Regions from separate parts of the Homo sapiens genome. Here all the other regions are linked to region 3. Evidence: promoter capture Hi-C in human tissues and cell types (Jung and others, 2019). All regions are on one chromosome and are shown on one strand. The core of a region is centred on a gene start or on the middle of the fragment in contact, and the rest is flanking DNA. Distances in the headings are between cores, read along the strand shown. Region 1 overlaps ITGAM (integrin subunit alpha M). Region 2 overlaps ITGAM (integrin subunit alpha M). Region 3 holds the start of TGFB1I1 (transforming growth factor beta 1 induced transcript 1).

Region 1 (4,139 bases), core at 34-2,533, 200 kb before region 3:
GGTCCCATTAGAGTCAGAAGCTAGGGAGGTGCTAGGGTCTTGTACTTTAGGAAAACGCCTTGGCTAGGCACAGTGGCTCATACCTGCAATCCCAAAGCTTTGGGAGCCCAGGAGCTTGAGATCAGCCTGGGCAATGTAGTGAGATCCTGTCTCTAAAAAAAAAAAAAAAAAAAATTAGCTGAGTGTGGTGATGAGCACCTGTAGTCTTAGCTATTTGGAGGCCAAGGTGGGAAGATTGCTTGAGGCCACAAGTTCAAGGCAAGCCTGGGCAACATAGGGAGATCCCCGTCTCTACAAAAAAAAAAAAAAATTAGCCAGGCGTGGTGGCACACACCTGCAGTCCCAGCTACTCAGGAGGATCACTTGAGCCTGGGAAGTTGAAGCTGCAGCAAGTTATGATTGCACCACTGTACTCCAACCTGGGTGACAGAGCAAGACCCTGTCTTTAAAAAATAAGTCCAGGTCACACTGCAGAGGAGGGGATGGTGCAAGGTGTCATTGGCAAGAGGTGGGAATCTTGGGGACCATCCTGGGGGGCGGCCTTCCACACCCCTGTTCCCCAAACCTCTGTTGATTGAGATTCTGAGTGACTGTATGGATTTTTTTTTTTTTTTTTTTTTTTGAGGCAGAGTCTCGCTCTGTCACCCAGGCTGGAGTGCAGTGGCACGATCTTGGCTTACTGCAACCTCTGCCTCCCAGGTTCAAGCGATTCTCCTGCCCCATCTTCCCAAGTAGCTGGGATTACAGGTGCCCGCCACCACACCCGGCTAATTTTTGTATTTTTAGCAGAGACGGGGTTTCACCATGTTGGCCAGGCTGGTCTCGAACTCCTGAGCTCTGGTGATCTGCCCACCTTGGCTTCCCAAAGTGCTGGGAATGAGCCAGGGAATGAGTGGGGGGCATGAGCCACCATGCCTGGCCAGAGTGCGTGGATCTTTCAAGCTGCTTTTTCCCACTGCTTTGTTCGATGGCTATGCCATCTTTTTGCTTGTCTTCATGTTGATTCTGGGACCACAGGCGAATGTTTCTCCCTTGCATTTTTTTTCTTTCTCAAGCCCTGTTCCTCTATATTTCACCCTCCACAGTTAATCCTCCTTCCTCCACAGAGAAAACAAAAGCTTCAGGCATGGACTCCCTCCACTTTCCCCTTCTCTTATTTTATCTTAATAAGCGGTTTTCCAGTCTTCACTGGAATTTGTTGACAAATTCTAAAGGAGCTGTAACACCGCACTTTCTCCTTTTTCTCAAATTTCCATAATGACAGCACTCCTGGCAGTGACTCACTCGTTTTAGAGGAAGACCTGTCTCTCCTCTGTCCCATGACTAAATTCTTCCATATGGGCTTTTGAGAGTCTCTCATGCACCAACTAAGGTGATCACCTATCTTTCTTTTTTCTTTTTTTTTTGGAGACAGGGTCTTGCTCTGTCACCTAAGCTGGAGTGCAGTGGCACAATCTCGGCTCACTGCAGCCTCTGCCTCCTGTGCTCAAGAAATTCTTGTGCCTCCGCCTCCAGAGTAGCTGGGATCACAGGTGCGCATATACTGATTTTTGTATTTTTTGTAGAGATGGGGTTTCACCTTGTTGCCCAGGCTGGTCTCGAATTCCTGGGCTCAAGAGATCTTCCCACCTCAGCCTCCCACAGTGCTGGGATCACAGGTGTGAGCCACTGCGCCTGGCCCAGCATCTCTTGAATCACTTGTTTTCTCTCTAGGACAATTAACTTCCCCCTTCCTCTGGCTGTAAACACTCTTCATTCTATCTGTATCTGAAAAGCAATCAACCACCACAATCGATAGCCATGAAAACAATCTTCTCTCTTCCAGTCTCCTCCTCATCTCCTGCCATCTCTCCTCACCCTCACCACCCAAGCTTCCTGAGTGCATTCTCTTCACCCCCGGCTGGCCTCCAGCTTCCCTCTCCACCTAGGGGCACTGGGTTCTGGGTTCTCTTTTCACCCACGTGTTCTTCTTTCCTGAAATCACCCAGTTCTGTGGCTTCAGCTAACACTTCTACCTCTCCCTCTTTAGACCTCACTCTCAGGGTTCAAGACTACTTCTTTAAAAAAGTTTTCATTTATTAAAAAATATATAATACATACACTTGGTTCAAAATTCGAAAGGGTGCGGTAGCTCACACCTGTAATTCCAGCACTTTGGGAGGTCAAGGCAGGAGGATTGTTTGAGGCCAGGAGTTTGGGACCAGCCTAGACAACATAATGAGACCCCATCTCTACAAAAAATGCAATTAGCCAGGCATGGTGGCGTGTGCCTGTGGTCTTAGCTATTCAGGAGGCCTCCCAAAGTGCTGGGGTTACAGGCATGAGCCACTGTGCCCTGCCAGTCTTTCTAAAATACAAAACAAATCATCTCACTTCCTTTTCTAAGAACCTTCTGTGGCTCCCCATTGCCTACAGATAAAGTCGAGCTCCTTATTGGAGTAGAAAGGCCCTTGCCCGCTGCTCTTTGCTTGATGCCACCGCTGTGTCTCCATCGCCGTCACATACGTTTGTCCCTGTAGTGCTGTTTCCATCAAACGGCATTCCTGGATTCTGCCAGAATCCTTTTGAGGCCCTTGTCCCATATATCAGTAGGAGTCTCAACTGGGACCAAAAGCACATTCCAGTAATGTAACTGCCCAAGGGGTTCACCTTGCTTGCTGCCTAGACAGAGCCGATTCATCAAGACAGCAGAATTGCGATAGAGAAAGAATAATTCACACAGAGCCAGCTATGCAGGGGACCAGAGTTTTATTATCACTCGAATCAGTCTCCTCGAGCATTTGGGGGCAGAGTTTTTGAGGATAACTTGGTAGGTCGCGGGGGAAGCCAGTGAGCTGGGAGTGCTGATTGATCAGGGATGAAATCATCGGGAGTCGGAGCTGTCTTCTTGCGTTCAGTTGGTTCCTGGGTGGGGGCAGCAAGATCGGATGAACCAGTTTATTGATCTGGGCAGTGCCAGCTGATCCATCAAGTGCAAGGTCTGCAAAATATCTCAAGCACTGATTTTAGGAGCAGTTTAGGGAGGGTCAGAATCTTGTAGCCTCCAGCTGCATGACTCCTAAATCATAATTTCTCATCTTGTGGCTAACGTTAGTCCTACAAAGGCAATCTAGTCCCCAGGTAAGAAGGAGGTCTGCTTTGGGAAAGGGCTGTTACGATCTTTGTTTAAACTATAAACTATAAACTATAAACTAAGTGTCTCCCAAAGTTAGCTCAGCCTACACCCAGGAATGAACACGGACAGCTTGGAGGTTAGAAGCAAGATGGAATCAGTTAAGTTAGATCTCTTTCACTGTCTCAGTCATAATTTTGCAAAGGCGGTTTCAGTAAGATTTATTTACAAAGAGGGGGGTTTATTTATAAAGGGAGTAATTATAAAGCTGTGACAGGCCTAAGGGAGCCATCAGGGACTTTCCAAGCCCTGGGCAAGCAGGTCTGTTGCCACCCCTGGGTTTATGGGTTGAGGAGAGGGAGAGCTCACCAGGGTCTGGAGAGAGTCATGTGGAGCTGGCTTCCTTCTGAGGAACAGTTGGTCTTTTGTGAAGGACATAGCTGTCCCCAAACAACCTCAATGGGAGAACACCCGGACCTCACTGCCCTCCTCCCTCTAGTCTTCTGTTGAGCCCCCTCATCTGCCAAATCCAATGGGAATCCAGAGGGCAACAGAGTCCTGGTGATGGGGTCCCTGCAGGTTGACCTCCCAGGCCACAGAGCTGAGCGGCAATGGGTAGAAAGTGGATTTGGGGATGGGGCAGAAGGCAGAGGAGCACATTCCACATCACTTTATATGTGTGTGCCCTTCCCTTTTCTAGAATCTACTCCTTTTGTATATCTGGCAAATCCTTCCTTCCTTCCTTCCTTCCTTCCTCCTTTGCTTTCCTTTCCTTTCCTTTCCTTTCCTTTCCTTTCCTTTCCTTTCCTTTCCTTTTTTTCTTCCTTTCTTCCTTTTCTTCGAAGTCTTGCTCTGTGACCCAGGCTGGAGTGCAGTGGTGCGATCTCAGCTACTTTTTGTATTTTTAATAGAGATAGGGTTTCACCATGTCAGCCAGGCTGGTCTCAAACTCCTGATCTCAAGTGATCCACCTGCCTCAGCCTCCCAAAGTGCTGGGATTACAGGTGTGAGCCACCTCGCCCAGCTG
Region 2 (4,477 bases), core at 1,253-3,752, 140 kb before region 3:
GTGTATGCACGTGTGCACACACACCACACATACACACACACAAGCTTTTTTACACAAATGGTAGCATACTTTATATTGGTCTGTATCTTGCTTTTTTTCACCAATATTTCTCAGACATCGGTTCATATTAAGACATAAATTACTTTTTCATTCTTTTATACCGCTGCATAGTATTCCATTGTGTGAGTGTACCATAATGTATTTAACCAGTCTTCTTTTGATATACTATTTTCATTCTCTTGTTATTGCATCAATGCTGAGTTAATAAATCAAATATATGTCATTTTTGCATATATGTAAGGATAATTTATAGGATATGTTCCTGGAAGTTTGGGTTCTCCCAGAAGCAAACCCAAGAATTTGGGTGAAACAAGCGTATTTAAGAGGTGGCAGGCCAGGCATGGTGGCTCACACCTGAAATCCCAGCATTTTGGGAGGTGAAGGTGTGAAGATTGCTTGAGCTCAGGAGTTCGAGACTAGCCTGGGCAACATAGTGAGAACCTGTGTCCACGAAAAATTAAAAAAATTTAGCCAGGCCTGGTGTTACATGCCTGTAGTCACAGCTACTCCGGAGGCTGATGCAGGAGGATTACTTGAGCCCAGAAGGTCTAGACTGCAGTGAGCCATGATCGCACCACTGCACTCCAGCCTGGGTGACAGAGTGAGATCCTGTCTCAAAAATAAACAAAATAATAAAATAAAGGTCGGGCACAGTGGCTCACGCCTCTGTAATCCCAGAACTTTGGGAGGCCGAGGCTGGTGGATCACCTGATCTCAGGAGTTTGAGACCAGCCTGTCGAACTTGGTGAAACCCCGTCTCTACTAAAAATACAAAAAAATTAGCCATGCATGGTGGCAGGCAACTGTAATCTCAGCTACTTGGGAGGCTGAGGAAGGAGAATTGCTTTAACCTGGGAGGTAGAGGTTGCAGTGAGATATGATTGCATCACTGCACTCCAGCCTGGGCGACAGAGCAGGACTCCATCTTAAAAAAAAAAAAATAAATAAAATAAAATAAAATAAAGAGATGGCTCCAGGAAATACCGAGGAAGGGAAGGCTGCCAATAACAGGTGTATCACCCACAGAGAAGCTGCTGTGAGTTCCTGGAGCTTCACCCCACTGGGCAGTTCTCGGAGGCAGTGCAGAACACGCACCTCAGTATCACCCCACCCAGGGGAGAAGGCTGGAGCGCATAGACACCGATTCCACTTAGCTATTGGATGAGGGCTGCTCTTGGTGGGGAGAGTGTGTTAATTTCCTACCACTTCTGGCCTGCCCTGAGTGTGAGGAGAGTGGGCTCTAGTGGCCAGAGAAAGTGATACCAGTGCTGCTGGCTGGATGTTTGACAGGTGAACACAGCCCCTGACACGGTGCCTTTGGTTCAGGTCAGGGCACCAGGAGCACTTGCTGCCAAGGTGTGTGCAGGTGACATTTTGGTGGCTGCTTCCTCAGAGGGAGGATGCCCAGTGCCTGTCCCTCATACTTTGCAAACACAGTAAACACTAGCCTGGCCTGAACATACATCCTCTCTAATCCTCACACCAGTCCTTGGTATTTACATGAATTTCACTTATGAGGAAACCTAGGCTTAGATAGATCATACCAGTTGCCTGAGGTCATACAGCTGGGAAGGAATGGAGCTAGGAGTTAATCCCAGCTCTGCCTAGGTCTAAAGCTTTTCTCTTTTACTGTCCTGACAGCCTCAGAGGAATGGCCCCAGAACAGGCATGAGGGAGTGTGGGGAGAGGGTGGCTGTTATTTAACTGTTATGATATTGGGTTAAAGCATATGAAATTGATGACATGTTTTTGGACAAAAATGTTTCTTTCTTTTCTTTCTTTCTTTCTCTTTCTCTCTTTTCTTTCTCTCTCTCTTTCTTTCTCCTTCTTTCTTTCTTTCTCCTTCTTTCTTTCTTTCCCTTCCTTCCTTCCTTCCTTTCCTTCCTTCCTTCCTTCCTTCCTTCCTTCCTCCTTCCTTCCTTCCTTCCTTCCTCCTTCCTTCCTTCCTTCCTTCCTTTCTTTTTTCTTTCTTTCTTTCCTTCCTTCCTTCCTTCCTTCCTTCCTTCCTTCCTTCCTTCCTTCCTTCTTTCTTTCTTTCTTTCTTTCTTTCTTTCTTTCTTTCTTTCTTTCTTTCTTTCTTTCTTTCTTTCTTTCTTTCTTTCTTTTTTTTCATGGAGTCTTGTTCTGTCGCCCAGACTGGAGTACAGTAGTGTGATCTCAGCTCACTACAACCTCTCCCTCCCGGGTTCAAGTGATTATCTTGCCTCAGCCTCCTGAGTAGCTGGGATTACAGGCGTGCACCACAATGTCTGGCTAATTTTTTTTTTTTGTATTTTTGGTAGAGATGGGGTTCCACCATGTTGGCCAGGCTGGTCTTGAACTCCTGACCTCAGGTGATCCATCTGCCTTGGCCTCCCGAAATGCTGGGATTACAGGTGTGAGTCACTGTGCCCAGCCAAAAAATGGTAATTTCATGATCTTCATTGAAATACAAGAAAATCATGGCTTAGAGGGACACTTGTTTCACATGTGGCAGGAGGAGAGAGGGCTTACTCCTTAGGGAGGTGAAGGAAGGGTCCCCAAGGGAGGTGACACCTGACTGAAGCAGGGCCAGAAGATCTCCAGGCAGAAGGGAGGGCAGGGGAGGCTGGGAGAGTGGGCAGGGCTTGGGCATGAGTGCTTTGTAAGCCAGAGTGAGTAGTTCCAATTTCACTCAAAGTGAAGTGAGATGCCCTCAAAAGGTGGCTAATGAGACAATGGCCCTTTGTATCTGTGGGGGTGACACAAAACACGGTCACCTTTAGACGGTTCTTTGCTATTTCCTCTCCTGACTTAAATAAAGTCTGTTAAGAATTTCTGTGTTTCCTTATGTTGAAAGATAAAAGTCCTCAATATCTGCAGAAGTCCTGAATTGCTCCGGGAACAGAGAGAGTTCTGTACCTTTAGTCGCCTGTCCTTTCACCCTCCATGTCTGTAGTCGCCTGTCCTTGCAGCCTCCATGCTGGTCCTTGTAGCCTTCGTACCTAGTTGCTTGTCCTGGCAGCCTCCATACCTGTAGTTGCCTGTCCTTGCAGCCTCCGTGCCTGTAGCCGCCAGTCTTTGCAGGGCAGTTAAAGTCCTGTGAACTCAGAGTTCACCTCCGCGTCTTCAAATGAGAAGCTTGTGTTGAATTCAGCCAGATAGGAGCTTTATGATGGGTTAGAAAAGTCAATCATTTCAAGCGACAGATTTCCCTAGCATGACCACAAAGTGACTAATAAACAGGACCATAAATCTGGTGATAAGTGGCCAAGTCCAGGAACGTCTGCTTGCTTTTATTTTTGGGGATTTCTCACTTCAGAATAAATGAATCCCTTCAGTATCCACTCTCCTTTTCCTACTTAGAGTAGAATCTTAATTTGGGCCACCATGGGAGATGGTTACAATTCTGACTCCCAGTGAATGGTGCTTCCCGGCCCTACACCCTTGCAGTGTGACATTGCTGTCCCTGACATCACATGGTGCGGCCTGTCTACCTCTTTGAATCTGGGCTGGTCCCGTGGTTTGCTTTGATTAATAGAATACAGTAGGAGTGTGGTCGTGTGAGTTCTGGAGCCTAGACCTTTAGGAGCACAGCAGATCCTGCCCTGCACCCCTCGGAACACTGAGGTCACCACGCCGTGATCCATATGGCCCACTGGAGAAAGAGTGGACTCATGGAGGAGACAGCGGAGGCCACTGCCACTGTGCATGCATGAGGCTGCTGTGATCCTTCCATCCAGCTGTCCAACACCTGCAGCCACTGGAGAGTCCCACAGAACTGCCTGGATTGTCACCTCATGCAACTGTGAGAAATAATCAATTACTGATGTCTCAGTCCTGCGTGGTGGTTTGTTACGCTGCAATGGATATTGCGTATAGCCCCTTAGTTATAGGGTTCGTCTCCCCACCTCCTGTGCAGCTGGTGTGGCTGCCTGGCGAGGTTCTGGCTGATGGGATGTGAGCAGCAGTGAAGCGAGCAACTTCGGAGCCAGGTCCTTTGAGGGAAGAAGTGTCGTTTCTTTTCACCACCTTCCCGCTGGCTGGAGTGTCAGCATCACGGTGCACAATTTTGGACCCTGAAGATGAGTTTGACATCGAAGAATGCAAGAGTGGAACAGAGGAGGCTGGGTCCCGCCTCTGCGGAGGCACCATGTCAGCCCTGGACTCCATATTCTCATGCCATTACAGGAGAGAGATGAGAACACTGGTCTTGTTGAAAACACTATCACTCAGAGCCTCCGATACAGCAGTTTATCTGTTTTGTTAATTGATATCACCACCTTCCCAAAGATTCTGTTCTCCCAATTGTGGTAAAGGCCGAAGTCGTCTTCTTCTTATTCTTCTTTTTCTTTTTTCAGACAGTGTCTCGCTCTGCTGCCAAAGCTGGAGTGCAGTGGCGTGATCACAGCTCACTGCAACCTTGAGCTCCTGGGCTCAAGTGATCTCCCACATCAGC
Region 3 (4,309 bases), core at 972-3,471:
ATAACTCTATGTTTAAACATGTGAGGAACTGCCAGACCATTTTCCAAAGTTAGTGAACGATTTTACATTCCAACCAGCCATGTGTGAGGGTTCCAATCTCTCCATATCCTCACAAAAACTTGCTAATTACCTCTTTCTTTTCAGCTTTTTTTTTTTTTTTTTTTGAGTCGGAATCTCACTCTGTCACCAGGCTGGAGTGCAGTGGCACAATCTCTGCTCACTGCAACCTCTGCCTCCCGAGTTCAAGTGATTCTCCTGCCTCAGCCTCCCGAGTAGCTGGGATTACAGGTGCCTGCCACCACACCCAGCTAATTTTTGTATTTTTAGTAGAGACGGGGTTTTGCCAAGTTAACCAGGCTGGTCTCCAACTCCAGACCTCAGGTGATCCGCCCGCCTCGGCCTCCCAGAGTGTTGGGATTACAGGCGTGAACCACTGAGCCTGGCCTTTAAAATATTATCATTATTATTTGAGATGGAGTCTCGCTCTGTTGCTCAGGCTGGAGTGCAGTGGCACGATCTCAGCTCACTGCAGCCTCCACCTGCCAGGTTCAAGGGATTCTTCCGCCTCAGCCTCCCAAGTAGCTGGGACTACAGGTGCCCACCACCATGTCTGGCTAATTTTTTTGTGTGTTTTTAGTAGAGACTGTTTTCACCATGTTAGCCAGGCTGGTCTCGAACTCCTGACCTCAGGGGATCCACCCACCTCGGCCTTCCAAAGTGTTAGGATTACAGGTGTGAGCCACTGCTCCTTGCCTAATTACCTGTCTTTTTTGTTATTGCCATCCTAATAGGTATGATGTGGCATCTCATTGTAGTTTTGATTTGCATTTCTCTGGGGACTAATGATGTTGAGGATCTTTTCATGTAATCATTGGCTATTTATATAACTTCTTTGAACTGTCTATTCAGGTCGTTTGCCCATTTTTTCTTCTTTTTCTTTTTTATTCTTGACACAGGGTCTCCTCTGTTGCTCAGGAGTTCAGTGGCACAATCTCAGCTCACTGCAGCCTCTGCCTCCAGGTTTCAAGCAATTCTCCTGTCTCAGCCTCCCAAGTAGCTGGAATTACAGGCTCCCACCACCACGCACAGCTAATTTTGTGTTTTTAGTAGAGATGGGGTTTTGTCATGTTGGCCAGGCTGGTCTCGAACTCCTGACCTCAAGTGACCTGCCCGCCTTGACCTCCCAAAGTGCTAGGATTATAGGTGTGAGCCACCATGCCTGTCTCGCATTTTTAAAAAGCTCCCCAGGTTGTTCCGATTTGCTGCTGGGTTGATACTCACATTCCAGTGCTCAGATCTGTCCAGAAGAGTGGCTGCAGCACAGTTGTCTGTCCATAACTACCTCTATGGCCTCTCGTTTCCACCTCGTTTCTCAGGGTCTCAGTCCAGGGAAGGCCTTGCCACTTTGTGGCTGGAGACTGTGTCTTGCTTTCTGCTCTGAGTTCATCAGTAACTTGGGAAAGGGCTGTTTCAGAGCAGGCCTGGGCCACCTCAGTGCTGAGGAAGGGCTTTGTCTTGCAGGCTGGCTGGGGGTTGGTTGCCTGGGAGTGTTTTCCCCGAATTTGCAAGGGGCTTGCGCCCGGGTTCGAGTTTACGTGTGTCCATGACCAAGTCTTGGAGGGAAGGTCCTAGTGTAGAGTCTGTGGGTGGGTTCACTGTGTCTGTCCCCGTCCCTCAGATTTCTTTGTGTCTGGTATGTATGCCTCTTGGGGCCTCTATTTATCTGTCAGGGTCTCCGATGGGAGGGTCTCCGAACCTGAGGTCTAATTGAGCCTTAGAATATCACTCCTGCTACCAATCCAAAAATTCCGTCTGGGACAAGTCTCCCAGGAATGGCATGGGTGGGAGGGAGGCTCTTGTCTAGGACTCAGGCGCTAGCTTTGAGCGGTGTCTGTTTGGGGGCCTCAGTCCGTGTCTGTAAGTCTCCCTAGGGAGCGGCTCTGGGGCTTGGTCTGGAGAAGCCACTTCTCTCTGGCTCTGGCCTCCTGGGGCTCCCTGCAGCTGAGGCCAAGGCTGGGGTGTGGCCGCCTCCGCGGCAGGCCGGCGGGCTGGGCTCGGGTGGGCCGGGGCGCTCCCTCCTTTCCACGCCCCCACCTCGGGTTCCCCCGTTCATCGCCCCCCCATCCCCATCTCAGCGGGTCCCGGCTTCCTTACATGGTCACGGCCGGGCTTCCAGCTCCCGGACGTCCCCCGCCCCCCGCCCCCACCGGACACGGCCCCCGCCCTGTTCGCCCCGCGCCACCGGCCCGCGCCCCGCCATGGAGGACCTGGGTGAGTGGGGCCGGATCCCCGGGTCCGTGGCCCCTCACCGCTGCCCAGAGCTGCCTCCCCGCCGTCGCTCTCCCGCATCTCCCCATCCCTGTCTTCTTACTTCTGCTTTTCGCCTCTGCCCGCGCCTCCTTTCCAACTCCACGTCCCCCTTCCTGCCTCTCCCTTCCTGCCTTTCCTGGGCCGGCCGCTCCCTCCCTTCTTCCCTCGCTGTGCTCCTCCATCCCAGGCTGCGGCAGATGGAACGGGAGGTGCGGCGCCCGCGGGCGCCCGGGCGCGGGGCTCTGGGGAGGGAGGGGTTAAAGGGGCCTCGGCCCGGGGACCGGGAAAGTAGAGGGCACGGGAAAGTCTGGCATCAAGTTTTGGAGAAAAAAAGCGGGCCTGCCTGCACCAGAGTTTTGGGAGAGGAGGAGTTAAGGGCTCCTGAGCACAGTGAGGGTCAGGTCCTTGAGGCAAGGAAGAGAATAGTAACTCAGGAGTGCCTAGGCGCCCGCGAAGGCTTCAGGGTTTCACGCGGGTGCTCAGAGACGAAGACTGAGGGCAGGACTTCTGGGTTCTGGAAGTGAAAGGGCTCAAAAGACCCGGATCTGGGGATGCAGGGATGGAGAGAGGTGTCTTGTCCGGAAGGGGGACCCAGGTATCTCGTCCTCCCTGCGAAGCCTGGGGCTGGAAGGCTGTGCGCTCCACGGGAGAGAGGGGCTTCCGGCCCCTGGCGGTAGAGGGCGCTGCTCGGTAGGGGTAACTGACGCTGTACCGCAGATAAACAGCCAATCAGAAGGCAGGTCCCAGCGAAGCGCCAGTGAGGAGCCCAGGGCGGGACTCAGGGGCCTGGGAGTGGCCAGGCTGGGCGGGGCCTGTGTAGGTAGAGGGAGGAGTTAACCAGCATGGAAGAGAGAGCGTCCAATCAGAAAGCTGAGGGCCAGGCACTGGGCCAATGGAGCAATTTGGAGGGGAGCCAAATTTGGCTTGGGTGAAGAGCCCATTTTGACTGCATCAGAGAAGATGGGGAGAATAAAATAATCAGGAGGCTGGGTTTGTGCTTGGCTCCAAGCGTGAGCAACTGGGATATTCTGGTCATAAATATTCCTTGCTACCCTTCGAGCAGTGCTCTGCCTGGCTCTGGCCCTGTGACCTCTTCTCTTAATACTGGCTTCTGTCCTTCTCCAGTACTGCCCACTGGGAACCTTATCTTCTGATCTAACCGTGACCCTTGTCTCTCTCCCTGATGGCCTCTTCCTGCAGATGCCCTGCTCTCTGACCTGGAGACTACCACCTCGCACATGCCAAGGTCAGGGGCTCCCAAAGAGCGCCCTGCGGAGCCTCTCACCCCTCCCCCATCCTATGGCCACCAGCCACAGGTGAGATCGGATGTTGGGGACTGGGGCAGCCACTAGGGCCAGGCTCGGCCTGGTCTATGGGGATCTCAGCCTCAGTGGGGCAGAGTGCAGGCCTGTCATCCCACCTGTGCGTCTCCGCTCTGTAGACAGGGTCTGGGGAGTCTTCAGGAGCCTCGGGGGACAAGGACCACCTGTACAGGTGAGGGGCCTGGAAACCAGGGCATGGGGGCCAACTGAGTCTCAGGTGAGGAGGCTTGGATTCCCCACCCCTGAACCCAGGCTCCCACTCTGCTTCCCAGCACGGTATGCAAGCCTCGGTCCCCAAAGCCTGCAGCCCCGGCGGCCCCTCCATTCTCCTCTTCCAGCGGTGTCTTGGGTACCGGGCTCTGTGAGCTAGATCGGTTGCTTCAGGAACTTAATGCCACTCAGTTCAACATCACAGGTACCAGGGTGACTGAGAGAGGCCTTGATGCGATAGGGGCAGGGGAGGGAAGGGTGGGGCAGAGACTAAGAGGAATACACTTCCCAGAGTAGCAGTTAAAGGGACCTAAAGCCTCAAGTGTGAGGGTGCGTTGAGCATGGCCCTATATGTAGCGTCCTCCTCTCCTCTCTCCAGATGAAATCATGTCTCAGTTCCCATCTAGCAAGGTGGCTTCAGGAGAGCAGAAGGAGGACCAGTCTGAAGATAAGAAAAGACCCAGCCT

Evidence for each region. The method cuts DNA at HindIII sites, captures the fragments that hold promoters and counts their contacts. A contact is called where the count stands out against the background at its distance.
Region 1: a fragment that was not itself captured here is called in contact with the fragment with the promoter of TGFB1I1 in region 3 in 1 of the 25 tissues and cell types used here (spleen).
Region 2: a fragment that was not itself captured here is called in contact with the fragment with the promoter of TGFB1I1 in region 3 in 2 of the 25 tissues and cell types used here (bladder and spleen).

Annotation. Positions count from the first base shown.
Region 1 is chr16:31,266,264-31,270,402 of GRCh38, forward strand. All of the region lies in intron 5 of ITGAM (integrin subunit alpha M), which reads left to right. Among named protein-coding and RNA genes, the nearest start is that of ITGAM, 8.4 kb to the left of the region's middle. The HindIII fragment of the contact is 5,038 bases long and covers 1-3,802 here.
Region 2 is chr16:31,332,587-31,337,063 of GRCh38, forward strand. ITGAM (integrin subunit alpha M) reads left to right here. Exons shown (of 30, transcript NM_000632.4): 30 at 1-291. Among named protein-coding and RNA genes, the nearest start is that of ITGAX, 20 kb to the right of the region's middle. The HindIII fragment of the contact is 5,342 bases long and covers 1-4,477 here.
Region 3 is chr16:31,469,931-31,474,239 of GRCh38, forward strand. It overlaps TGFB1I1 (transforming growth factor beta 1 induced transcript 1), which reads left to right and starts at 2,222. Exons shown (of 11, transcript NM_001042454.3): 1 at 2,222-2,271; 2 at 3,511-3,626; 3 at 3,752-3,804; 4 at 3,905-4,047; 5 at 4,222-4,309. The coding sequence starts at 2,259. RefSeq lists an enhancer at 2,561-3,101. The HindIII fragment of the contact is 11,590 bases long and covers 1-4,309 here.